7 separate regions of the Homo sapiens genome follow, and regions 1, 2, 3, 5, 6 and 7 are each linked to region 4. The links are contacts of gene promoters, found by promoter capture Hi-C in blood cells and fetal thymus (Javierre and others, 2016). All regions are on one chromosome and are shown on one strand. The core of a region is centred on a gene start or on the middle of the fragment in contact, and the rest is flanking DNA. Distances in the headings are between cores, read along the strand shown. Region 1 overlaps KANSL1L (KAT8 regulatory NSL complex subunit 1 like). Region 2 overlaps PTH2R (parathyroid hormone 2 receptor). Region 3 overlaps PTH2R (parathyroid hormone 2 receptor). Region 4 holds the start of MAP2 (microtubule associated protein 2). Region 5 overlaps PTH2R (parathyroid hormone 2 receptor). Region 6 overlaps ACADL (acyl-CoA dehydrogenase long chain). Region 7 overlaps RPE (ribulose-5-phosphate-3-epimerase).

Evidence for each region. Contacts are between HindIII fragments. The CHiCAGO score rates a contact against its expected background, and 5 or more counts as called.
Region 1: a contact is called between a fragment that was not itself captured here and the fragment with the promoter of MAP2 in region 4, in 1 of 17 cell types (total B cells). The highest score is 8.1, in total B cells.
Region 2: a fragment that was not itself captured here is called in contact with the fragment with the promoter of MAP2 in region 4 in 1 of 17 cell types (M1 macrophages); the score reaches 5.7 in M1 macrophages.
Region 3: a fragment that was not itself captured here is called in contact with the fragment with the promoter of MAP2 in region 4 in 2 of 17 cell types (M2 macrophages and M1 macrophages); the score reaches 6.9 in M2 macrophages.
Region 5: a contact is called between a fragment that was not itself captured here and the fragment with the promoter of MAP2 in region 4, in 5 of 17 cell types (M0 macrophages, megakaryocytes, M1 macrophages and 2 more). The highest score is 6.9, in M0 macrophages.
Region 6: a fragment that was not itself captured here is called in contact with the fragment with the promoter of MAP2 in region 4 in 1 of 17 cell types (naive B cells); the score reaches 5.7 in naive B cells.
Region 7: a fragment that was not itself captured here is called in contact with the fragment with the promoter of MAP2 in region 4 in 1 of 17 cell types (total B cells); the score reaches 7.2 in total B cells.

Annotation. Positions count from the first base shown.
Region 1 is chr2:210,162,112-210,165,764 of GRCh38, reverse strand. The region is part of intron 1 of KANSL1L (KAT8 regulatory NSL complex subunit 1 like); the gene reads left to right. Among named protein-coding and RNA genes, the nearest start is that of KANSL1L, 7.5 kb to the left of the region's middle. The HindIII fragment of the contact is 1,984 bases long and covers 360-2,343 here.
Region 2 is chr2:208,453,003-208,456,636 of GRCh38, reverse strand. All of the region lies in intron 8 of PTH2R (parathyroid hormone 2 receptor), which reads right to left. Among named protein-coding and RNA genes, the nearest start is that of PTH2R, 48 kb to the right of the region's middle. The HindIII fragment of the contact is 1,135 bases long and covers 1,241-2,375 here.
Region 3 is chr2:208,428,692-208,432,719 of GRCh38, reverse strand. The region is part of intron 2 of PTH2R (parathyroid hormone 2 receptor); the gene reads right to left. Among named protein-coding and RNA genes, the nearest start is that of PTH2R, 24 kb to the right of the region's middle. The HindIII fragment of the contact is 2,759 bases long and covers 742-3,500 here.
Region 4 is chr2:209,422,107-209,425,995 of GRCh38, reverse strand. MAP2 (microtubule associated protein 2) reads right to left here and starts at 1,949. Exons shown (of 16, transcript NM_001375505.1): 1 at 1,720-1,949. RefSeq lists a silencer at 1,879-2,268. The HindIII fragment of the contact is 4,087 bases long and covers 784-3,889 here.
Region 5 is chr2:208,471,662-208,475,701 of GRCh38, reverse strand. The region is part of intron 9 of PTH2R (parathyroid hormone 2 receptor); the gene reads right to left. Among named protein-coding and RNA genes, the nearest start is that of PTH2R, 67 kb to the right of the region's middle. The HindIII fragment of the contact is 1,057 bases long and covers 1,346-2,402 here.
Region 6 is chr2:210,204,951-210,208,919 of GRCh38, reverse strand. It overlaps ACADL (acyl-CoA dehydrogenase long chain), which reads left to right. Exons shown (of 11, transcript NM_001608.4): 6 at 3,124-3,288. Among named protein-coding and RNA genes, the nearest start is that of ACADL, 19 kb to the left of the region's middle. The HindIII fragment of the contact is 5,476 bases long and covers 1-3,969 here.
Region 7 is chr2:210,004,007-210,007,675 of GRCh38, reverse strand. The region is part of intron 1 of RPE (ribulose-5-phosphate-3-epimerase); the gene reads right to left. Among named protein-coding and RNA genes, the nearest start is that of RPE, 3.2 kb to the right of the region's middle. The HindIII fragment of the contact is 1,306 bases long and covers 1,708-3,013 here.

The DNA.
Region 1 (3,653 bases), core at 102-2,601, 740 kb before region 4:
TAACTCATGCTTTCCTTAACTCACAATGAACGTTCTTTGGATTAAATTGTAGACCCAAAATTAGAATTTATGGTATAGATTTAACTTTACAGTCTACCTATTGTTTTTATCAGATTAACTTAATTTTATTTATAATAATTTCAGAGCAACTAATAGCAACTAATGCCTTAATTCACAGTGATTGTTCTTTGGATTAAATTGTAGTCTAAAAATTAGAATTTATGGTGTAGATTTAACTTTACAATCCCCCCTTGTTTTTATTAGATTAATTTTATTTATAACAAATTTAATATAACCAAAAACAAAAAAATTGATTCTTTCTAGTTTTAAAAAATGTTTATTATTTAAAAACATAAGCTTTGTCTTGTCTTACTGAAATTCTCTCTGGTGTTTTTTAATAAGACTTCTTAAAAAAACCGGAGATACACTGAGTTTGGAATTGCTTACTGGAGGATTATTTACTTGATAGACTATCTGTAACAGTTTTATAACAGACTGGTTTTTGTTTTGTTTTGCCATCCATAACATTTCTGGGCTGCTGATGTGCTAAGGAATTTTTTTTGTTTTTTGTTTTTTGGTTTTTTTTTTAGTAAAATTGGAATGTAAGTTGAAAATTCTGTTGTAAAAACGTAAAAGTATGCCAGTGCTTTGGTGGGCAGATCACGAGGTCAGGAGTTCGAGACCAGCCTGGCCAACATGGTGAAACCCCATCTCTACTAAAGATACAAAAAATTAGCTGGGCATGGTGGCATGCATCTGTAATCCCAGCTACTTGGGAGGCTGGGGCAGGAGAATCGCTTGAACCCAGGAAGCGGAAGTTGCAGTGAGCTGAGATTGTGCCATTGCACTCCAGCCTAGGTGGCGGGGCGAGACTCCATCTCAAAACAAAAAAAAACAAAAAAAAAAAAACAGAAAAAATAAAAGTAAAATTTATACCCAAGAAACATAGTTGGTTTTTGGATTATCTAGAACTGTTACCTATTGACAGAATCAAGATTATGTATCTAGTTGCTTTCTTTGAAAGAGGACTGATATATTTTCATAACTTAGTTTTGCTTCTTAAATTCTGTAAGTTTGATATTTTCATTTCTGTGTGTTGTGACAAAAAGTTTAATTCTTTTTTCCAGTTTTCTTCCTTCTAGGTTCTTCGAAGTTCTGCATCATTAGACTAAATTCTTTTAGAAAAGGGACCTCTTGTTCCTAAGTATCTTGGGTGTATATGAAAGAAATAATCATCAAAGATGATGGTGGTGCCTAGAGTAATATAATAAAGTATTTTAGTAGTTGTAAAGACATTTCTTAGATTTAGCAAGGATCCAAATACTCCTGCCCAATTATGTGTATAATTGGAAACCTAAATAATTAGAAACTGAGTATTTATAGGAAGATCCAGGTGCTTTTTAGAAAGCTATTTGAGGATTTATTTTCCATAAACTTTCCATAAAGCCTAGAATACTATAGGTGCCTAAAAATATTAAACAATAGATTTGGCCAAAAAATTGGGGGACTGAAATATAGTAGTCGATAGTTGATCCCTGGTTACAAGACTTGGCACACATACAGAGGAATAGAAAATAGCTTATCAAGATGTTTATGTATTGATTACATGTTGATATATGATACTTTATATATATGATGACATTAAATTTAATTTTTCATGTTTCTTTTAAAAATATGTCTAGTAGTAGCAAGTTTAAAATTACATATGTAGCCACTTCATATTTCTATTGGACAGTTACATTCTATACTAATGTTTCCTAATTTTTTTGCCTTGAGACTCCTTCACAATAAAATATATCTCATGAACCTTCTTCCTTGAAATTTTAAAATAATTTTACCATTTTGGATAGTATTTGTTCAAGAAATATTTATTATGAGCCTGCTATGTGCCATAAAATATTCTAGAATACGATGATGAGTGAACACATAACACCTGCCTTCATGTAGCTTTTGATCTATTTGGGGAAAATATGTGATGAAGTAATTTCTAGTAAAAATTTTTAAATGGATCATTTGTTATAAGTATACTATTGTATATAAAATTTCATGTAATATAATTTTATATATTTCTTCATTTATTAAGTGATAGTTTGGTGTTCTCTGAGCTTCCTGGATATGTGGTTTGGTGTCTGACATTAATTTGGAGAAATTCTTAGTCATTATTGTTTCAATTTTCTTTTCTTTTTCTCTTCTCCTTCTGGTATTCCCATTATGCATATGTTACACCATTTGTAATTGTCCCACAGTTCTTGGTTGGATAGTCTCTTCTTCCTCAAACCCCCTGCCATCTTTGTTCTCTTTCCTTTTTAGTTTTGGAGGTTTCTATTGCTGTATCTTCAAGCTTAGTGCTACTTTCTTCCACCACATCCAGTCTGCTACTAAGCCCATCAAAGACATTATTTTTGTTGCAGTGTTTTTGATTTCTAGCATTTCATTTTTATTCTCTTTTTAGAATTTCCATCTCTCTTCTTACATTACCTGTCATTTGTTGCATGTTGTCTGTTTTTTCCATTAGAGGCCTTAGCATATTAATCATAGTTGTTTTAAATTCCTGGTCTAGTAATTCCATCATTCTTGCCATATCTAAATCTGGTTCTGATGCTTGCTGTCTCTTCAAACTATGTTGTTTGCCCTTTAGTGTGCCTTGTCGTTTTCTCTTGAAAGCTGAACATGATGTGCTGAGTAAAAGGAACTCTAGTAAATAGGCTTTTAATAAGATGTAAGGATAGAAAAGATGTTCTGTATTCCAGTGATAAGGTCTGTCTTTCAATGAGCCTGTGCCCTGGGCTGTGAACTTCACTAGTGCTTCTCAGTTTTTCCCTGCTTAGGTAGGATAGAATGGCTAGAGGCTGCTGGAGTTGGATATTTAGTTAATATGTAACCTTTTAAAAGCAATACATTCCTTAAAAAGTAATATCGGCTTTGCTATCTTCATCTGCTTGACCTGTTTAGCATTTGACAGAACTGACCATGTTATACACTTCTAAACACGTTGGTATCTTGATTTCATACACTTCTGGATTTCCTCCTATCTCGATGATCTTTTCAGTTTTCTTTTAGCGTCCTTCCTCTTTTATAGCTCCTCTTCCTTTGCTCAAGTAAATGTGAGTAAACCCCCACGTTTTGTCCTGGGCTCCTTTCTCTTTGCTTATACCCACTCCCTAGGGTAAATACTATTTATATGCCAGTGACTCTGCAAAATAATCTCTCTAATTATGAATTCTTGCTTGAACTCCAGACTTGTTTTTATAGCTGTTTCCACTTGAATGTTTAAAAGACACTTAAAAAGTAACATATCCAAAACAGAAATTTTTATTTTTTTCTTCTTCAACTTTCTTCCTCCCCAAGTCTGCTCCCTTAGGTCAGAAAATAGCACCACTGACCACCCAGTTGCTCAAGCTAAAAACCTAGGAGTCATCCTTGATTCCTTCCTTTCCCTTAATTCCTGTTAAGTCTTTGTCAAGCATTGTTGACTCTGTCTTGAAACAAGTTCTTTAATTTTTTAATTTTTATTGATATACATATATATATATATATATATACCTGAACCACTAAATTTGGGGGTAATATATTAGACAGTAATAAATAATGAATACACTTGGATATGAAGACCAATTCTTCATATCAGCTGGATACGTCCAATTAGTTTTGGA
Region 2 (3,634 bases), core at 559-3,058, 970 kb after region 4:
GCCCAAGGGATCCAGAGAATTGAATTGGCTGAGCACTACCTTCTCTCCACAACTTACAATCAGTAAGAGTAGAAGAAGCGAAAGAAGCTGACCCCAAAAGCCTGTGCAGATGTTCTAGAAATGTCAGATGGCTTCTTGGTCCTTTGCAGCCCCCACCTTTGCTGCTGGATGGTGAAACAAAAATACAGCAAAGAAGTTATGGGTTTCTTCTCTCATTGGCATCTCTTATCTCCTTCGAATGAGGCAAAGAGAAGATAATCAGATTACCGTGTAAGGTGTTTTTGCTTTTGTAAGTAAAAAGAAAGAGAACAAAATTGCTCACTTTTTAATTTAATTTGCCCAACCTACTTGATTATCTTAGCTGACCTTAGTAAAATAACACTCTTTTTTTTTTTGAGACAGAGTCTCCCTCTGTTGCCCAGGCTGGAGTGCAGTGGCGTGATCTCGGCTCACTGTAGCCTCTGCTTCCCCAGTTCAGGCGATTCTCCTGCCTCAATCTCCCAAGTATTTGGAATTACAGGCACGCACCACCACGCCCAGCTAATTTTTTTTGCATTTTTAGTAGAGACGGAGTTTCACCATGTTGGCCATGCTGGTCTTGAACCCCTGGCCTCAAGGGATCAGCCTGCTTTGGCCTCCCAAAGCACTGGGATTACAGGCATGAGCCACCTTGCCCAGCCCAAATAACACCTAATAGAATTTTAAATCTGAAAGAGACTTCTTTTGTATATCAATAGAGTTTAAGGTATCTTTTAAAACTGGGTCTGACATGCTTATCTCCAAATAGCCAAGATGCAGAGAAAATCAGAGGTTTCACTTTGAAAGGCCAGATTAGAAAACATTGAGTCTCAAATATAAGACATGAATATGAACCCCATTCATCCTTTGAAGATATTTAAAATCTGTTCTCTCCCCAGAGTGTTGTCATATGGCGCTATATAGGTCAGATAACACCCAAGAAAACCCACAAAAACTTTATCTATAGAAAAGCTGAATTTTATGTGAAGTTGAATCAGGCAATTTTGAAATCATCTCAGAGAAGTGGCAACACAGTTTATGTTTACAGGCAAAATTAAATATAAAATGACCCTTCATCCAATTATCCCAGATCTGGGCACTGTAGAATTCAAGATTTTATTCTGATAAGTTAGGAAGAAAGTGGAATATTTTGCAAGGTGGTCACATGATATAACTAATTGAATGAATGAGTCAAAATTCTGCTTCAGTCTAGCGGTAAGCTTTGAGAATGTGTCCTGATGTCTCTGGATCACATTTTACTTATCTCTAATATGGGATGATTGAACCAGAAAATGCCTTAAGTCCTATCATCTCTAAAATTCTGAATCTAGGTCATACAGTTACACATCTCAGAATATGATCATGATAGCATTAATTAGTACCTCTTTACTGATGCAACTTCCCTCCCATGTAAATCAAGTAACAGGTATTGCAAGTTTTCTTTGAGATTTGCAATCTCACTGTGTGTATATAGCAATAATGATGTCAATTAGATAACATCAACCCTCAATTGTTAACAAATTCAAATAGCATAAAGGGATCAAAGTAAGGAAAAATGCAAAGCCAGCAAGTTTTAGAACTGAGGGAAGCTGATGAATGGGGAGCTTTGAAGCAAGTAGGAGGAAGGCTGCACCTAAAGACAATGACTCTGTACAGTTCTAATTTTCAGGAACAGTGAGTGACAGGTTCTTTATAGAGTTTAGGTATTCACAGTATGTGATTTTTTTTTCAGTGCATAGCAGACAAAATAATTCCTGAAGGAAATATCTAGTAACTCAAAACAATATATTGGCTTAAATAAAGTTCCCAGGAGATAACAAAAAGGGAACTGCTGTCACAAAGCGTACACAATCTGTGGATATTAAATTGTTCTCTATTAACATAAAAGAATGCTTGGCATTACTGCATATATAGGTTAAAGCTGCCTCTCTTTAAATTACCTTTTCTTTATCATAAGTGTGTTAATCTGCTTGACGTGTGATAGCAAAATACCACAGGCTGGGTGGCTTAAACAATAGACATTTATTTTCTCAGTCTGGAGACTAGAAGTTCAAGATCAGGGTGCCAGCATGGTCCTGTTCTGGTGAGACCTCTCTTCTTGGCTTGTAAGTAGCCTCCATCTCACTGTGTGCTCACATGACCTCTTCTTTGTGTGCACAGAGAGAGAGGGAGAGCCAGCCTCTCTGGCATCTCTTCTTATAAGGACACTAATCCTTTCATAACAGGGCCCCACTCTCATGACCTCCTTAACCCTAATTAGGTCCTTATAGACCCTATCTCCAAATAGAGTCACATTGGGGGTTAGGGCTTTAACATGTGAATTTTGGGAGACATAATTCAGTCCATAGCAATAAGCTTGACCATGAGAGCAAAGCGCAGTTACCTGAATGCTTTTCTACTTTTTCCTATTCTTTCTCATCATTATTTAAATAGAAATAATACCAAAAAAAAAAGAATTTTTTCATGTTCATTCATCATGTAGCCCCTCAAGAGAAACACAGACAACTGGGGGGCTCTGGCCAAAGTCCATTTGAGCCAACTGAAAGCCTTTACCAGGCAGCCTCCCTGCAGTCAGCCCCGGAGGCACTTGGGTCAGACAGAAGTAAAGGGCGACTTACAAGCTATCAGACACTTATAAGGAATGATAGGAGATGGGCGGTCAAGATTTTTTTCTGTTTATATATAATGATCGGGCCTTAAAAGTTACTGTTTCTTTACGCACAATGAAGGTAACATTTATTGTTTGTCTAAAATTTGGAGTTTACAAAGCCCTTTCATAATGGCCTCTCATCTAATTCTCAGATCTGTCCCCTGCAAACTCACAGCATTAGTCATGGCCAAGAATATTATTCTCATCTCACAGATGGAAGACTGAGGCTGAGAATGACTGCTGCAAGTCATGAATGGAAGAAAAACCACACCTCCTTATAACTCACAACTTGCATTAACTCAAACTTTATCATTGCTTAATAGATATGGAGCAAAGAGAGAAAAAATGGTCAGCCGAATCCAGAAGAATTGATCAGCATGCACTGAAGAGTTATCTACTGTAAAACAGGGAATTTCATTTATGCCCATTTGGAATTCATGGTTTGTTGGAAAAATGAGACAGTTACACTTGCACATTTAGAGAAATAAGATGATAGATAAGAAAGGAATAATTATATAATATGCATACTAAATGCTGCAGGAATTTGATAAGGAAGATTTATATGGTAGAATAGTAGATTTCAAACGCACTAACAAGGTAGAGCATTTGTAGTTATGGTTTTCACCATGAAATGCAGATATATTTAATTTTATCATGTGAATGAGAAAAACATATGCCAGGAGACAACACTGCATGTATACATGCAATACAAATACACAGGCATGAGCTTATATGTCAACAAAAAATGGGAATTGTTGAAAAGTTAATGGTAGGTGATAACCTATTTCTGATTTAGAGAACAGAAAGAACTAGAAGTTTTACCTCTCTGAGGTAAAAAGACAAAAGGCTAGACATAGTGAAGATAAGAGAAAAACTGTCTAGTGTATGCTGGACATTTTCCACTGTGTACTCTTGATTACCAGATGTGTTAAATCAACTGAAGAGTGAGAAGCTATCAGTGATACT
Region 3 (4,028 bases), core at 872-3,371, 990 kb after region 4:
GCTGGGGGCTCTCAGGTATTTGGCCATGGACTGAAGGCTTCCCTGTTTTTGAGGCTCTTGGACTTAACTGAGCCACTATTGTCTTCTTTCTTCCCCAGCTTGCAGATGGCCTATCATGGGACTTCACCCTGTGATCATGTGAGCCAATTCTTTCTAATAAACTCCCTTTCACATATACTTATATCCTATTAGTTCTGTTCCTCTGGAGAACTTTGACTAATACAGTCTTACTTTCCTCTCATCACATCTAATTCCTACTTCTTTACTTTTAAGATGAGATAATTATTCTTCCAGGAAGCCTTCCCTGATTAATTAAGATTCATCTTCAGTGGTTCTATAGTTGTTAAAACACCTCTGTTGTTAAAATTATACACCATCCTGAAAGATGCCTGCCGTCCCTATTAAGCCATTAACCCCACAGGGAAAAGGCAGAAACTTATTCATACTTTTTAGAGCTTACTCTGGGCACATAATAATATTTGTTGAACTGTTAAAGGGACACTGACGATGATAATGTTGGCCTAGGTGATCTCTGAAATACCTTCTAGCTCAACAGTTTATAAGATTTCACAGAAAACAGCTTATCAGCCATCACAGATAATAATGCTTTCAAATTTTTTCATGATGATGTATCTCTTTGTTAGTAGATTTCCATATCTAAGATATTAGGATCAGCATTCTTTAGAAGTTGCACGAGTGATTCCCTTTTCAGACACTATTAGACTAGCCATTCAGAAAGCTTCCTCTTAGTACAAGATACCTACAAAGGCTATATTAATGTAAAAGCCTTCTTTCTTTAAATATGGCTTAGCTGGCTGTAAAGTAAAGGAATAAATTGTAGGCCAGAAATATAGGAGCAGCAAGCTCTACATTTGGGGTTTACCTTAGAGGCTTCTATTGACCTGTTTACTTAGAGTTTTGGTGGTGTTCAGGTAACAAAAGAAGAGCCTGAGGCCTGATGGGGTGGAGAAATTGAACAGGAAACCCCTCTAGAAAGTCAGTATCCCCAAAAGATGATACTTCTCCCACTAAGTGGGTGGGCAAGAAATAAAACCATCCTTCAGAAAGAGATTGGTTTGTGTCATTCTTGGCTACATTTGGAGTTGGAATAGAAAACAGTGGAGGGGAAATTCTTCTCTAAACATTTCTAACCACAAGCCTATATTTATGTGTGATCTAAATTTAGTTTAAATTGGACTTAGGTCAATAATTCATCTAGGCACCTTGCAGTTGCAAACACAAATTTTCTCTAAAGAAATGTTCTTTAAACAAGAACCTCATGAGTTGCTCATCACAAATCATTAGACACACAAGGAAATAAGCCACCATGTGTGGTGGTCAGCATTGACCAGCAGTCTATAGATATTACAATTATCATATGCAGCATATAAAGCATGTCTAGGAAAAAAAGAAGAGATTTGAAAGAATATTGAAGGAGCAAGAGACTATCAAAATTGAATACGAAGACTTCAGAAAATAAAAATATAATCAAAATTTACTAATGGATGGATTGAACAGTTGTTAGACAAAGCTGAACAAAGAGCTGGCAAACTGGAAAATATATATGAAGAAATTACCAAAATAGCAGTAAAGAAACAAAGAAAAGGAAAATACATAAGACATCGACACACAAAGAGTAGTATGAGTAGGTCCCATATTTGTCTTCTTAAAGTTCCAGAAGGAGATGAGAGAATAAAGGGGAGCAAAATTTCAGAGGCAAAATAACTAAAACATTCCAATCACCGAATAAAGATACAGATGTACAGATTCAGGAAATCCAATGAATCTATACCTAGATACAGAGTGAAACTGCAGAATATCAATGTTAAAGAGTTCTTAAAGAGAGCCAGACAGAGGCCGGGCATGCTGGCTCACACCTGCAATCCCAGCACTTTGGGAGGCAGAGGCAGGCAGATCACGAGGTCGGGAGATTGAGACCATCCTGGCTAACATGGTGAAACCCCGTCTCTACTAAAAAAATACAAAAAACAAAAAATACAAAAAAATTAGCCGGATGTGGTGGCAGGCACCTGTAGTCCCAGCTACTCGGAAGGCTGAGGCAGGAGAATGGTGTGAACCCGGGAGGCGGAGCTTGCAGTGAGCCAAGATCATGCCACTGCACTCCAGCCTGGGTGACAGAGCGAGACTCCGTCTCAAAAAAAAAAAAAAAAAAGAAGCCAGACAGAAAAAGCTAATCACCAACAAAGGCTGAGAATTGATTTGTCAGTAATAACAATGGAAGCTAGAAAAAAAAAAAATGGTATCTTTAGGTGATAGAAGTAAATAATTTTTAGCCAAGGATCATATGTCCAGAAAAAGTATCTTTCAAGGTTGACACCAAAATAAAGACATTTTCCAACAGACAAAAACTGAGATCACTATAAACATATTCTAACATAAAGATTCAAAAATATATAAATAAAGGACATTTTATTCAAAGAAGAAAAATTATAATAACATAAAATTAAGGTAGAACTAAAGAGCATATAATTTGGAAGCAATTAAAGTATCTCAAATTGTGTTTATTATTTGGAAAAAGGAAGAGAATGATAAACTTTAAACTTTCTGAAATTAAATATATGTGAAAAATTTCTAGGATAACCACTAAAGGAATTAAATATAATACATATCTTCCATACTAGTTGGCGGTGGCAGGGGATGGAATAAAATGAGAAAAATGTCTCAATCAATCCAAAAGAGAGTTGGAACTGGGGAAGTGGAAGGGCAGAGGAAGAGCTGGTGAAACAGACAGCCCACATGAGATTTTAGAATTAAACTCAAATACTGTATATTAGTAACTACAATTAATGTAGTTGAGCTAAATTCTTCAGTTAATAGACAAAGATTATCAGAATGGATAATGAGAAAAACTCTATGTGTGTCCTGTTTGTAAAAGATACTCCTGAAATGTAAATATACAGAAAAGTTTAATAAAAGAATGAGGAAATATGAGTTGTTATTTAATGGGTACAGAGTGTCAATTTAGATGGAAAATTTCTGGAGACTGATTGCACAACAATGCGAATATACTTAACACTATTGAGCAGTACAATGAAAAAAATTTTAATGGTAAATTTAATGCTATGTATATTTTATCACAATTAAAACATTTTTAAAGGATTGGAAAAGATATACAAGGCAGATACTAACCAAGAAAGAAGGAAACTAGTGTTTTAAATTTTTTTAAATATAGTAATTTTAAATTGTACATATTTTTTAAATATGAAGGACAAGTATCCTAGAGATAAAGAGGGCTACTGTATATCTACAAAAGGTTTAATTCACCAGGAAATCTAATATTTCTAAACTTAAATAACCTCCTAACATATTTTCAAAATATATGAAGTAAAAATATCCAGTGAATTTTTCAATGAAAAGTTGAAATATTCATCATCATAGTAGCATATTTTAAGATATATATATCTCAGAAAATAATAGGTCAAGCACATTTTAAAAATCATTATGGATGCAGAATATATGAACCACACAACTAACAAGCTTAATCTAGTGGACACTATAAAACATTGTACTCAGAAACTAGAGGGCATACATACCTTTGAAGACCACATGGAAAATTATCAAAATTGACAAAACTATAAGACATTAAGTCTCAACACTTTTTTTTTTTTTTTTTTGAGACAGAGAGTCGCTCTGTCACCCAGGCTGGAGTTCAATGGTGCGATCTCAGCTCACCGCAACCTCCACCTCCCGGGTTCAAGCGATTCTCCTGCCTCAGCCTCCTGAGTAGCTGGGATTACAGGCATGCGCCACCACGCCCAGCTAATTTTTGCATTTTTAGTAGAGATAGGGTTTCACCATGTTGGCCACGCTGGTCTGGAGCTCCCGACCTCAGGTGATCCGCCCACCTCGGCCTCCCAAAGTGCTGGGATTACAGGCGTGAGCCACCGTGCCCGGCTGTCCCAACACATTTTTAAAACTCAGTATCATGCAGACCACATTCTCTGATCATAAACAATTGAGAAATCAATCACAATTATTTGCTGGCATTTAGAGAAGTATGAAGTAGA
Region 4 (3,889 bases), core at 700-3,199:
TTGAAGGAAGGGTTCTTTGTGTGCATGGGGCTGGGGCTTTTGGAACATCCATGATTTGCAAATTCACAAGGATTTCTACCAAAATACACCTATTGCCCGGTTAAAGGGCTGCTTTGTGTTATATTCTGATGGAAGGCTGTAATCTTTTCCCTGGGCATAAAATTAAAAGCATTCTAAAGGGCTTCTATTTATTCAATCTATTTGACTGCCAAAAAAAATCATAATTGTCCACAGTGAAATGACATAGTGAAAGAACTATGCTTTTGAACTGGGCTGGTACCTGCAGCTCATGCATGGGACATTTTGCATAATGTGGCTCACATAGAAGGCTTTGTTCTCCATCGCCTCACTGTGGCTGCAAACCTCAATTTCAGTTTGCAATCATTTCCTTTTCTAGACTGATCATTTTAAAATAAATTATACCTTTAACATTTAAATTAGTTCCTTACCAACAGTCATCAATCCCTTTGCCTCACACCCAAAATTATATACCACCCAACAATATTTTTTTGTTTTGCACTACAGATTTTATTCACAACATAATTTCCAAACCCTCAAATACAATTTTAAAAAATCAGTCTCTTAAGTACCTATTTCCTTTTGTAACATGTATATAGTGTATTATACATTTGTGTGCATACTTGTGTGTTTAGGCATTTAAACAAAAACCCTTTACACCGGACTCAATTTTAAAGCGTCTATGTCCTGGAAGCATTGTGCTAAGAGCTTACGACAGATGGCACACAGCAATTGTCACAAACGGGCTTGTTGCTAATGAAAGCTTTTTATTTTCTGACAAAAATCCTGAAGTCCGGATGCCAGGCAGAATAACATTAATTTCCAGTTTTCAAGGATTTTTTTTCTGACTCCATCCATACCCCTCCCCCTATACACACCCAAATATACAGCTCCCCACTCCTAGCCCCCCACACACTCTTTCTTGAAATTTCCATCCTTAAACAAAAGACGAGGTGGGGGAAGGCAGGCAGCCAGCACTGCAGTCCTCCTCTCCCCACCAAAAAAGCCTTTTAAAAAGAAAAGGAAGAAAAGAATAGATGCACTGTAGATTCAGAGGTCCACCCCCAACGTTTAAAAAGAAAAACGACTGTGTGGAAGCCTAACCAGACTCATTTCTTCGTGCCCCGCCCTCCAACACCACCAGGCATTTATTTTTCATTTTCCTACAATTATAAATATCAGTCCTCCTCTCCCAGCTGTTTCTGAAGGAATTACAGAGAAACATGATTTGAAATGGACAAGGCTTCCCTCACTCACTCACTTCCCAGTGTGCAGTTCTCTGCAGCTGGATGAACAAAAAAATCCCCTACCTCGATTTCCTATTTTCCACTATCTTTGTAGAATCCACTCCCCTTCTTTCCACAGCGCAGGTAATACTGGCTTTCGATACACGTATTCTAACCTGGCGTAAGTTTTCAGTTGTTTCAAAGTGGTACCTAACAAGCTCACTCGCTCTTCTACGAAGCCAGGGCTCAGGTACCAGTAGCGTCCGGCCCCCTGCTCCGCAGTGACACCTGGAGAGGACAGGCCCGAATCTTCCGCCAGGTGCACGGCTGGCCACTCGACCAACTACCAGACTGCCTGCTGCGAGTCCCAGAGGACGAGACACAACCCCTCCCCATTCCTATCTCTTTCTACTCAGAGACCGAGGCAAAAGGAGAGGCGCCCTACATAGAGCCAGAGGTGGGGACGGTCTCTTACCTGGGCGCAGAAACTGGATGCACCCGCGGTCGCGACTGCCACCGCTCACGGACTTAGCGCCCTCCGGAGAAAAAGGAGAGGGGTAGAAGGGTTAGGGGAAGAAGGGGAGGGGGGGGAAAAAGAAGGAGAAGGAAGAGAAAGAAGCGGAAGGGAAGTAAAGGAAGAGAGGATGCTGCTGCTGCTGCTGCTGCTGCCCAGAGCCCGCGCAGCCCGAGCGCCCGCCCCAGACTGAGAGCGGCGCCCCCAGCCGGCTCCCAGCGCAGCAGCTCCGCCTCGGCCCCTCCTCCCCGCCCCGCGCAGGTCCCGCCCCGCGCAGGTCCCGCCAGACTCCGCGAGCCCGTGGGCGGCCGCGGCGGGGCTGGCGCTGCCACCGCCGCAGTGTCCGGGAGGGGGAGCACGACCGCTTCGCCTTCTGCCGCAGCCGCCGGCCGCCAGGCGGGGACCGCGAGGTGGGAGCCTCGGAGAGCCCCGCCCAGCCGCTGGCCCGGGCCTTCTCCAGAGCCCTGGTCCCCTCCCGCGACAAAGTGAGGCCAGTGCCCGGGCGGCGGGACAGGCGGGCCTTCCTCACTGGCGTCCTTGGAAAATCGGGGGCAACAGCTTTAGTCTCTCGGGAGCAACCTCCGCAGACCCCCTGCTTCCCTCCCCTGTGTCGCTATGAGGCGGGGTTGCCAGTGGCACCTCACCAGGAAAGCTCACTGGCCTCGCCTCACAAACCCAACCACAGGTGCATCCAGAAAAGACAAAGGAATGTGGGGCGCTTGAGAACATAGAACAACTCTTGTCAGCACTAAAGGAGCAATGGCTGAGGGAGTAGAGAATTCTAGACCCAGCTCTGTCACGAATTAGATTCATTCATTTATTGAGTCAACGAATGTTTATTGACACCTACTATGTGTCAGGCACTCTTCTAAGCATTAGAAACATCAGTGACAGACCTTTCCCACAACCCTAATAAGAAAGATCCCCTCCCTTTATAGTTATTACATTCTAGATAGCCAGACGTATGCTCTAGAGACAGTTCACTTAATCTAACTCTCAGTGTATTCATGTGTCATATGAGAACTAAAAATGACAGCCCAATTCTCTTATGCTTAAAAAGATAATGAATATGAAGGATCTTTGAAGAATGATACAAATACAATGAATTAGAAAGCACGGAAAGTGTTGACCTTGAAATATCACCCTTAAAAAAATTGCCTCTTAAATGCTTTTGAAAGTGAAATGACCACCTGAGAAAACAAATGATTCTTTACCATTCGTACTAAGGAGTATGAATCTTCATAATCAGAGAGCAGCATTTTATTGTAAGTAAGAAAAGTAAGATGCAACTTAGAATTACTTCGAGTGTCTATATCAAGTACTGACAAGGTGTTTTTAAGGTCAGCCAACATACTGAGGTGTGGCTTGTACAGTCTTCACAGTGCTGATGAAACAGCAGCCATAATGTGGTTCTGTCACTTAAATTAACCACAGAATCTTAGAACCTAGAACATTAGAGTTGATGTTTTAGGCAGCTGGTCTAATTTCCTCCATTTTCAGATGGAAAGAGACCCAATGGTGGGAGCCTGCAAGGATTAGAAACCATCACAGAGGAAGCTGTGAAAGCCTGCCCTCCCCAGTCACACCCAGTGCTCTGTGTCCTGCCTCCCCCGCTCTGCTTCATACCATGTGCCAGTGACGCTTGCAGTGAGTTTGGAAGTATCAAGGCACACCCAGGAGCTGGGAGGTTGGAGGAGTTGATGCTCCTCCTCGGAAGATGGCCTTACTGAGAAGGAGGTCTTAGGAGACTAGGAAATCATAGACAGTATGTGGATGGGAGGAAGGAGTAGGCATGCTACCAGAGTGTTAGCAGCTGACATTCATGACCAGGCATGCAGGCGCAGGTGCTCAATGAGAGTAATTTTCCAGGGCCAGGAGCGGTGGCTCACACCTGTAATCCCAGCAGCTCAGGAGGGAGTATCGCTTGAAGCCAGAAGTTTGAGGGTGCAGTGAGTTATGATTACACCACTGCACTCCAGCCTGGGTGACAGAGTGAGACCCTGTCTCTAAAAAACAGCAATAAAAAAGACATTATTTCTCTGATAGTTTAAAGTACAGTGTTCCTCAGCACTTTTTGTTTTTGTTTGTTTGTTTGTTTGTTTGTTTTTTCCTCCACTTTAAGATTAGCTGA
Region 5 (4,040 bases), core at 625-3,124, 950 kb after region 4:
ATCAACATCTCTAATGCAAACCACAAGGTGTCAGTTACGTTAGTTCTCTGGAGGGTTATTTAAAGGTCAAAATCTCTGCAATAATGTTGTCAGATAAACATTGGACAAGATATCCCCAAAATGCTTCCCAACTTGAACATTCTTTGATTCTATGAATTATTTTTATGGAGTTGCCAGAAAAGGAACTACTGCCTGAACTACTGCAAAAAATAAGCATATGAATTCTAAAGTCTCAATGAGTGCCAGACCCTAATTCCCTAATAGGTTTTATGGTGTGTTTGTTTTTTTAATGCCAGTTAAGGGTTGCTTTAAACACTGAGTTTAGGATTTTCTCTTTTATTACTCCTATTCTGTAAGCATAGCTTAGATGTATGTACTATAAGAAAGGTGACCCTGGAAGAAATTTCTATTATTCAAATATAAAAGATATGTCATTAAATTAGTTATACATTTACATTTTATGACAATATTTACCTTTTCTTGGTTCTTTAAAAAAAAGTTCTCCTTGTTGCATTTTCACATTTTAATTCAGCTAAGATGAATCAACTCATTATAAAGGAAAATATTTTGAGACTTTACAGCATCTCCAAAGAAATGGATTTAAATGAATGGAATATGTGGGACTAACTCTCATCAAATAGCAAAAACCATGGATTGCCATCACGCTTGCTGCCCAAGCTCACCAGCTGCTGCAGCACTGATCTCCTTCCATTACTCACATCAGCAGCTGACAGTTATTTACAGTTGTTACCATTTTAATAAAACTCTTTAATTCCTGTCTCTTTCTTAGAAGGTTGCATCAAGAGTACAGTCTCTCATACAGATGTCAGAATCAATCAAACAGGACTATGCACTTAAAGGTGAATAGTACCTCTCTTAGACATTTGCGTCTCCAAGCTAGTTCATCTTCTCCATCCATCATAACACCTCTAGAGTTTTCTTTTTAAAACCCAAATCTGACCCACTTACTAACCTGCTTAAAATATTTTGATGTCTCATCACAATTTTAAGGAAAATTCCAATGTGCTTTAGCATGACATGTGAGTCCACTCCCATCAAACTCCACAGTCTGATCTCCTGCATATTCTGCAGATGCATTGTTCCTTCCAGCCATAGAAAACATAACATGCCCACTTGGCATGGGCTAATCTCTATGCCGGGAAAACCCTTCTCTGCGCTTTACCTATTAAGTGATTTAGGTAAGTGATTTCTAGTCTTCCTTTATAATTTTAGTTCAAATCTCACCTTCTTGGTGTTTCCTTTATTAAGCCCTCCAGACAGAGTTTGGTGTTGTCTCTTCCCTATTCTGAACTTCATGATGGCGTCAGAAAGACTTGGATAAGCTTATATCACTACTACATGAACCACCATTTCTGTTACTACACCTCTACTATTACCACGCTACCACTAGTAGTAGTATTACTGCCGTATTATAGGCTACTATTTACTGAATGCTTTTCATAGGTTATATTAAGCCCTTTAATAATCTTACATAGTCCTCCTAATAACCCTATGAAGTAGATATTACAATATCCAATTTCCTTTTTAGAAAACTTCATTTTAAAAGGGGCTAAATCATAGTACAGTCAGCAACTGGTTAAGAGTTCACACAGGATTCATACACTTGTTCACACAACTACCAACCCTATAATAAAAACTATTATGAGTTGCACCTCCTCTGCTAATGACCTGTATGACCTTGGATATGAGTTTGACTGCTTGTAGACTAGTAAAGTTAGTAAGACTCAACAAAATCTAAGATACCCCCAGCTCCAAAACCCTATAATTCTAAGTCACATACTTCTCTGTGTGCCGGTATTGTCAGTTATAAAATTGAAACAATAATATGGATATATTTATGCCAGTTAACTATGAAGAAAACTATATTTTAAATGATTGTAAGGTACCTACATGTGGCATGCTTATCATATAATCTTATGATCCACTATAAGTAATATCATTAAATATATATTTATATTTTCATTCAGCCAATATTTCCTAGGCACCAATAAAGGTCAGGCATTCTAGGAAAATAAAAGAATAGATCATCCCTCCCCATGAGGAGCACACAGGGAAGACAGAGCTAGTAAGTAAAATGCAATACGGTACACTTCTAAAGTGTCTGATCACATGAAACACAACTAGCCTCCCACAACCATGTGAACACCCACTGCTTACACTGGCCAGGACTTTTGTGTAATTTCAGGTTTCATTGTTAAAGGAATTTGTCCAGTCCAGTGTTCTCCAAATAAGTCATTTAGGGTGCCATCATCATGATTTTGCCATATTGATATTATTTACCTACTATTGCCTACTTCATATCTTTCTTCAATCAACTTTCATTAAATTATTAAAATTCATATTTCATACCATTAAACATAAATAAAGAACCAGTAGAAGCTTTTATAAATAAAAGACAACTGTGAAATACATATGATGGAAACAAAAAGCCTTATGAAATGTTATCTAGATTGGGTTGCCTGTCTTACCTCCCCCTACCCCCAAAGAAAGACACCACACATGTGAGTGTTGTTCAAGACCAGGACCAAAATAAAACTTTCTCCTTGATGTGTTCAGAAGGGTTGGAAATGGACCAATATTCATATATGATTCAATAATGCTTAATGACCTTGCATATACCACCTAAGTCCTCTCATGCACCAGGGTATGTGCCCCTACATAAGGAAACACTGCTCTAGCTTAAATCCTATGGCAAGAAAGAGCAAAAACTGTGGGCTCTGGCATGGCATTACCTGGGTTTGACCTTGGCTTCAGCATTTTCTAAATGTATAACCTCAGGCAAGTTACATAACCTTTCTTGAACCCAAACTGGGAATAATAAAAATACCTACTTAAAAGTTATTTGAGGATTAATGCAAAAAAAGACTCTGAAATATGCTTGAAACAAAAACAGACTCAAACATTTATTCATCAGATGATTAATAAAATATAGGAGATTAACTTTGTTAAGAGACAAAGGAAGACTGTATTAGTCCATTTACATGCTGCTGATAAAGACATACCTGAGACTGAAAACAAAAAAAAGGTTTAATGGACTTACAGTTCCATGTGGCTAGGGATGCCTCACAATCATAACAGAAGGTAAAAGGCACATCTCACGTGGTGGAAGACAAGAGAAGAGAGCTTGTGCAGGGAAACTTCCCCTTATATAATCATCAGATCTCATGAGACTTATTCACTATCATGAGAATGGCACAGGAAAGTGACCCCATGATTCAGTTACCTCCCACTGGGTCCCTCCCACAACATGTGGGAATTCAAGATGAGATTTGGAGGTGAGGAACTTGTTGCGAACTGGAGCAAAGGTGACTTGTTATCTATTATCAAAGAGACTGGTGGCATTTTGTCCCTGCCCTAGAGACTTTTGGAACTTTGAACTGGAGGGAAATGATTTAGGTATCATTCCACCCCTGGACTCTCCCAAATCTCATGTCCTCACATTTCAAAAGCAATCACACCTTCCCAACAGGCCCCCAAAGCCTTAACTCATTTCAGCAACAGCTCAAAGTCCACATTCCAAAGCCTTATCCAAGACAAGGCAAGTCCCTTCTGCCTATGAGTCTGTAAAATCAAAATCAAGTTAGTTACTTCCTAGATAAAATGGGGGTACAGGCATTGGGTAAATACAGCCATTCCAAATGGGATAAATTGGCCAAAACAAAGGGGCTACAGGGCCCATGCAAGTCTGAAATCTACTGAAGTAATCAAATTTTAAAGCTCCAAAATGACATCCTTTGACTCCATGTCTCACATCCAGGTCATGCTGATGAAAGAGGAAAGCTCCAATGGCCTTGGGCAGCTCTGCCCTTTTGGCTTTGCAGGGTATAGCCCCCCTCCTGCTTCTTTCACAAGCTGGCATTGAGTGTCTGCAGCTTTTCCAGGCACATGGTGCAAGTTGTTGGTGGAGCTACCATTCTGGGGTCTGGAGGACAGTGGCCCTCTTCTCACAGCTCCACTAGGCAGTGCCCCATTAGGGACTCTGTGTGGCAGCTCCAACCCCCATTTCCCTTCTGCACTGC
Region 6 (3,969 bases), core at 564-3,063, 780 kb before region 4:
ACAGGAAAAGTACCACTGACTCTGTTTCAAAAACTCTATTAGAAATAGCAAAAAACTGAAAGCAAGTAAAAGTAAAGGAATGGGTAAGCAAATACGGTGCATCTGAACGAATGTGCAGCCATTAACACTAGCAACACAAAGTTTTTAACAGTACAGGAAATAATTATACATTAAGTGAAAAAACAGGATATAGAATGCAAGTATAGGAACATTTTTACTATATTAAAATTTAAAAATATGAGAAAGGAAATTATCAATGATAGTTGTATTATGTACTTATGGAGAATTATATTTTCCTTTTTCTTTTGAACTTTACATTCTCTATACAATATCTGCAATGATTTTCTGTTATTTTATAAGCATTTAATATCCTCCTACCACCCAAAAATGTTGGCCCTCATTAGGGATAATTTCAGCCCTATTCAAACTTTGGAGTGTCATAATTAGGAAACAAACTGAGAAAGTCCACTTGCAAGGAAAATTCTCATATAACTCTATTAGAAAGGGGGATCCACCATGGTGTTTAAACTCACTTTAGGTCGCACTGTTGTAGAAATGGTTCAGATTTTATTAATCCTTTGCTATAATTACTTCCAATAAGAACTTCTGGAGAACTCCACTTGATTTACCAAATTGAGCTCAGCATATTAAAATGAATAGTTTTTGCCCAATGAATTTCTCCTCCCTTCCTTTCTATTCCATTGTTTATTTATTATCTGTAGTTAAAACATGTATGAGACCATTTGAGAGCATACTGTAGATACTAATTCCTGGATGCTGTGTGATGCAAAACAAACAAAAAAGCACTCATAGCATTTCAACTGTGGCAGCTATACAGACATTAGGAACTAGACAGAAAGGTAGGAGCTTGGTAGACTTATAAGGTTTTTGAGCAAGGGAGTCGTGTAATGGAGCAATACTGTTGAAAAAATATTTTTGCCAAGTTGTATAGAATTTTTTTGAGGAACATCTTTTTCAAAATATATTTTTAAAACATCCTTTGGCCTCCTCTGTGCCAAAAAGAATTCTAAGCACTTAAGATAGATATATGAATAGGAAATGGCTATGAGCTCCTAGTAAGGAGGCACGTTGATGATCTTTTATTATTGTGTCACCTATAACCATACTGCCACCACTATATTCATTTGCTGTTGTGTAGACAACACTAACATTATTTGCCCATTTTTCATTATTTGTATGTATCAGTGCTGTGCATTTTAGGTGATGGGAGTAACCAACATCATTTTATACCCCTACTATTTCAAAGAGAGAGAGATAAAAACAGATCATTTTGGTAAATTTGAGGTGTTGTAGGACCGCTTAACCCAGCCTGGAGAATTTGAGACCTTTTGGCCAATCTGATGTCTAAACCACCCAGGATGAGTACAATTCATTGCAGCAGAGTTGGGAAAGGGCCTTTCCCAAGTAGCAGAAACAAGATTTTCAAAGACTCATAGGTCAGGAAGACCTCGCAACGTGATGGACAGCAAGTAGTTTAGTAGAGCTGACTGAAGAAGAGGAAATTGGGGAAAGTGGGACAAGCAATAAGCCAGGTAAGGAGAGGTAAGCTAGTGCCAGTTTGTGATAAGTTTTCTATTTCCTGCTAAAGGTTTTGAATTTATCCTGAAGCCTATTAGGAGCTATTCAAAAATTTTTAAGTGTGAAGGTGATATGATCAGATTGCATTTAGAAAAATCTCTTTGACATCATGATGAATGATACAGCTGTAGAGAGATCAGTTGTAGGAACTTAAGAAATGATGAGGGCTGGAAATAAGGTAATTACAATAGACTTGAAAGGAAGTGAATAAATTCCAAAAGTATTAAGATGGGTTAGAAAAAACTAGATGCTGAATTGAATATGAAGCAGGATGATAATGTAATTTATTGAAGCATTCATTGAGATAGGGAAATAGGTTGATAATCAGGATTGGATAGGAGTAGGGGTGGGAAGGAATATGTCCTGCCCATGAGTCATCAGGTGGAACTATCCAGAAGCAAGTACTTATTCAGGTCCAGGTCCTATCAAGAAATGTGGCTTACCAGGAGTTTGAGGCTGCAAAGAGCTATGGTCACACCACTGCACTCCAGCCTGGGTGAGAGAGACCCTGTCTCTAAAAAAAAGAAAAGAAACATGGCTTAAATAAAGATTTGGAGACATCAGCATGTAGAGGGTGACTCAAGCCGTGAAAATGATTGAGATGAACCAGGAAAGATGCAGAATGAGAAGATAATTATTAATATTTGCTCTGAGTATACTGTTTTCTGTATCAATATCATCTGATAATCCCTCTCATTTGGCTTGTCATTTTTCCCTCCTTAATCATAGTTTCCTATTTAGACCATTTTAAAGGAAGCAGGATATCAATTACAAAAATCAAAAATAGTCCTTTTCAAAAACTGATAAATCTGAGAATAAATAATATAGTGCCATTTACAGCAGATTTTCTTTCTTTTTATTTTTCTTTTATTTTCTTTTCTTTTTTTCTAGAGACAGGGTCTCACTCTGTCACCCAGGTTGGGGTGCAGTGGTACAATCATAACTCACTGTAACCTCAAACTCCTGGACTCAAGCGATCCTCCTGCCTCAGCTTCCTGAGTAGCTTGGACTATATATAGGTGCACACTACCACATCAGCTAATTTTTAATTTTTTTGTCTCTACTATTTTGGCAAGGCTGGTCTTGAACTCCTGAGCTCAAATGATCCTCTTGCCTCGGCCTCCCAAAGTGCTGGGGTTACAGGTGTGAGCCACCGGGCCCGGCCAGATTTTCTTTTCTTATCAGTGGCTTCCTTCTAAAATACAATTTATCATCATAATAGACAATTTGGTTTCATTTTTAAAGAACATAATAATCTCTGTTTATTATTATTATGTATAATATTAATAGTGAAAAGAAAATCTATAGGTTTCATTCTTTGAAGCATTAAGTAATTTTTCCCCTGATCCTTGATAACATCATGTGTGAATAATCAACTTTGCAGATATTTGGGTAGGGTACAGAGAGAGGTATCAAGCATGTCTTGTCTGTTTTAGTTTTCTGTAATATACTTTCTCCCAATCATAACTTGCACATAGAATTGAATTATCATGGTGCATTAATAATGTACTTGGGGTTTTGCAGGTGTTCATCAGTAATGGGTCATTAAGTGATGTTGTGATTGTAGTTGCGGTCACAAATCATGAAGCTCCCTCCCCTGCCCATGGTATTAGCCTTTTTCTGGTGGAAAATGGAATGAAAGGATTTATCAAGGGACGAAAGCTACATAAAATGGGATTAAAAGCCCAGGTGAGTGATAATGTAAATCATATTCAGATACTAATTGAGTTTACTGTTAATCAGATAGGAGACTTACATAGAGGATTACATGTGGCACAATTTTATTTCCTATGCTGAATTCCTAAAATATGCTTTTCTGATGTGGTAATGAGATTTATTCTCATTTATACCACTCTATCTTTCTGATGGTCAGCAATAGAAATGAATCAAGGTATTTTGAATATCTGTTTTAGAAATGGCAAAATTAACTGCATGGTAACAAGCCATCTATTTGTAAAATGCATTAAAGAAAAATATGAAATAAAAATAAAGTGTGGCCAGGCACAGTGGCTCACACCTGTAATCCCAGCACTTTGGGAGGCTGAGGCCAGCGGATCACCTGAGGTCAGGAGTTCAAGACCAGCCTGGTCAATATGGTGAAACCCCATCTCTACTAATAATAAAAAATTAGCTGGGTGTGGTGGCAGGCACCTGTAGTCTCAGCTACTCGGGAGGCTGAGGCAGGAGAATCACTTGAACCCAGGAGGCAGAGGTTGCAGTGAGCCAAGATCACGCCACTGCACTCCAGCCTGGGCAACAGAATGAGACTCTGTCTCAAAAAAAATAAAACAAACAAACAAAAAAAACCCAGAAAATGTTCTTTCTATACATTACCAAAAATGCATGTTTTGCTTAATATGTATTAGAAAT
Region 7 (3,669 bases), core at 1,111-3,610, 580 kb before region 4:
ACAAAATAGGATTTATAAAGATGGGAAAAGAAACAAAGGCTGAAAATGAAGCAAAAGCAGAAATAAGCAAGTTACAGTCAAAGACGTGGAGAGTGGTATTGACCAACTTTGGCTAGTGTAAAAAAAAGATGGGAGGTTGGTAGTATCACATTAAAGGTGTCAAATGCCAAGCTCAGTGTCTGGACTTTTGTCCTGCTGTAAATATGAAGTAAGATCTTAAAGTGAGAAATATTAATAAATAAGATAGGATGGGAAATAAATTACAAGAGGGTAGGTGACTGCAATTGCCACTTGGTAAGTGGCAAGGAACACTAAGAATGACAAGACAGGCAAAACTGATTGGATCTGTTAAATGATTAGGTGTGTGGGAGGGGAGTTAAAATACAAACTATGTTTAAGGTCTCACAGTTAGATGACAGGTAGAATGAGTGCTAATAAAAACCAAACTTATATGTGGGCCACACACAGTTCTAAAGACTTTCTGTATATTAAATCATTAAAACCTCACAACAACCCTATGAGGTAGGTACTTTTATTAACTGTATTTTACAGATGAGGAACAGAGGCCCAAGGTCACACAACCAGTAAGTGCTGGAGGCAGGAATTAAACATAGGCACTATGGCTACAAAGTCCAGACTCTTAACTACTATGCTCATCTGTCCCTATAATGACAACAAACGAAACAAACAAGGGGAAAAAGTCTAGCGGAGAAGAGATTCAAGAGAGAGAGGTAAGGATTCAGGACACATCTGAGAGGGACACATAAGGTGGATGGGAACAGACACTTTCACTCAATAACACCTTGGTCTTTGGAGGTTTAATTTCTATCATTAAAAAAGTGATTCTAACATTTGCCTGAGCAATGATTGTCAGGGCTGTGGATAAGATGCATGTGTTTACTTAGAACTTGAAATAAGGGTCACAGAAGCAGGCAGTAAGGCCTATTGAATGTTTTACAATTCTGGAATTAAAGATCTGAATTTCACATACTGTTCTTTTAATTTGCTGTGTAGTCTGGGAAATAGTTTCGTTGTCTTAACAGTAGGTTTCATTTATTATGAAAATAAAAGTATAATAACCACCTCCCGAGTAAATAAAAGAACCAAAAAAAATACACTTTTACTTTTTTGGGAAAACCTAAACAAAACGTATAAAAATACTAACCCCAAAGTTACGTGACTTAATTTGTGCTTTTGAAAATCAATTCAATGCACTAGGTTCACGAAGTATATTGGAAGAACAAGAATGCATCAGTAGTCTCAAAAAAAAACCCAAAGGCTACGCTAAGCCATAACAAAAAGGGGCTACAATCCTAAGCACGAAGTCAGGGTGTCCCAAATTTGCCAAACAGTAACCATGAGAGCAGTTCTAATGTATTTACAGTCTCTACCTCAGCCTACTGACTCCAAAGAGGACCGGGAATCTGAATTTTGAACAAATGCCAGAGGGAGTTAACAGACCAGCTTGGAAAACACTTAATTATTTCACTTAACAGAGAGAAACTTCACTAAAAAGTCTGCTTCATCATTATCTTATTCTGCCTCTTTTTCCTTTAAGTTATTTCCTGGAGTTAGTTAAGTGTGAAAGAAATAAAATAAAATAAAAAGGTATCCCTTTCTTCCAGGGACTTACTGGAATTACACTATAATTTTTTGTAATACAAGGATACAATTTTCTCTCTCATGTTCCATCATCACTCCTAAGCTTTACTTACGTAATTCTAACACAATCTACTGCAGACAGATCAAGCCATTTACCCTATCTCCCAACAAGGCAAAGATGGTAAGAGGAGGATTAGAGTTGCTATAAAAGGTACAGGACTGTAACTAGAACACAATCTTCCTGTGAATCAGGAATCACAAACTCAATGCTGCTGAGAGTTAGGTAACATCAAAGAGCAAAACAGAGCAGATAGGGAAAGGGGCCAAATGAAGTACACCCCACATGACTAAAGGTGAGGCTGCCCCTGTCAGCTCCAGCGCATGTCACCTGGTAAGACTGAGGGCCCAGTGCTAGCAAGTCTTTGAACTGTTTTTTTTTTTCCCCCAAAAGTCAGAAATGCAGTATTAATGTGAAATCGTCCCAGTTTTAAATCCTGGTAGCGAATTTAGAAATTAATTCTTTGCTCTGTTCCCATGGTTAGGATGAACACATTCTAGTCACTGTCCTGTCATGATGCATTTATGTGTTTTCTAGGGTTTTTTTCCCCCAGAGAATCCACTTGTCCTTTGTTTCACATATCCAGTCATGCTAGTGCTCCACCTTCCACAGTATTCCCCAGACTGGTTTCTGACTTTCTAAATGAAGAAATTCAGTTGTAATCAGGGGAGAAATTGGAGGTCTTAGTGGGGAGGAGACTAGAAAACAATAAGCACATCCAAAGTGTAATGTTGGATGAGATTTTTAAAAGGGGCCAGGAAAAAAAAAACACGAAGGCAGTCCTGGGAGGGAAGGGACATTGTGGCTGGCCACATTTCAAAAAGGAGTCCACAGCCCACTTTCATAGCCCTAGCCTAGTAGACACCACAGCACATCACGTAGGGGCACTGGCACCAACTCTGCCAGGCTCTGCTGAATCTGGTGAGACATCAGGGAAGAAGCTGAATCTCCCTACACTGGTTTCCTCCTTTGCAAAAGGGGAATAGAAACAGCTCTTAACTCAGAAAGTAGAGAAGATTAAAAGGGAAATAATTTTAAAATTGTGTATGCAGAATTCAGTTTTTCCAAACCAAAGTATCTCCTGGCAAAGGGGAAGAGGAATCAATAAAAAACAAATACTTCATTTTTTATTTTTTTGTTCCCAAAACTCTGATCCATGGTAAATACTTTGCCTTACTGAGCTCAGTCTGCCATAGAGCTGCAAGGGGACAAAAGTGACTTCTGAGAGACTTCTCCTATTATGATTAAGCTATTCATTCATTCGGCCAACAATAACTAAGCACCTTATGGTGCTTTTCCAGCAAAGAATATATAGGTGAGCAAAAAGAAGATAAACTTGGCTTTCAGGAAGCTTATAGGGTAGCAGGAGAGACATGAAATAAGTTAACAAAAATAAGTATACAGTTAACAGAAATAAATACACAAATTATTAGTTGCTTTTTTGAGGCCAAACAATGTCTTAGTCATTCCCTGTAAGCCTAGGAACCACAGAAAGCATTTCATTTGAGACAACACAAGCTGTTGCATTGCTTCCAACCCTGGCTCCACCATTTCCTAGTTATGAGACCACTGGCAGATGACTTAACCTCTCTGTGCCCAATTCCTCGCTGTCAAATGCTGGTGGTAATAACACCACCAATTTCAAACGGTTGTTTGAGTTAATTCACAAAAAAACTCCAGAACAGAAACAGTCAAGTGCTCATAAACATTGCTACTATGGTTATCATTAATAATCCTGACTGGTGAACCGAAACAATTACTTTCCCCAACCATTAACTTACTCAAACATAGTTTAATTAAAACCAAATTGCTCAAATAGACTCACAAATATACACATAGCTGTTCCATCCTGTGACCCTCTAGGTATTTTCTCAGGCACAAAAATGTAGCTACTTACCTTTGAGGTAGACACTCAGGGTATTATTACCTGTGACAGTTTAGGGCTTTCAAGCAAAGATGTCAAAAATAAAGTATATAAGTATAATTACATATAATGGCCAATTAAAAGC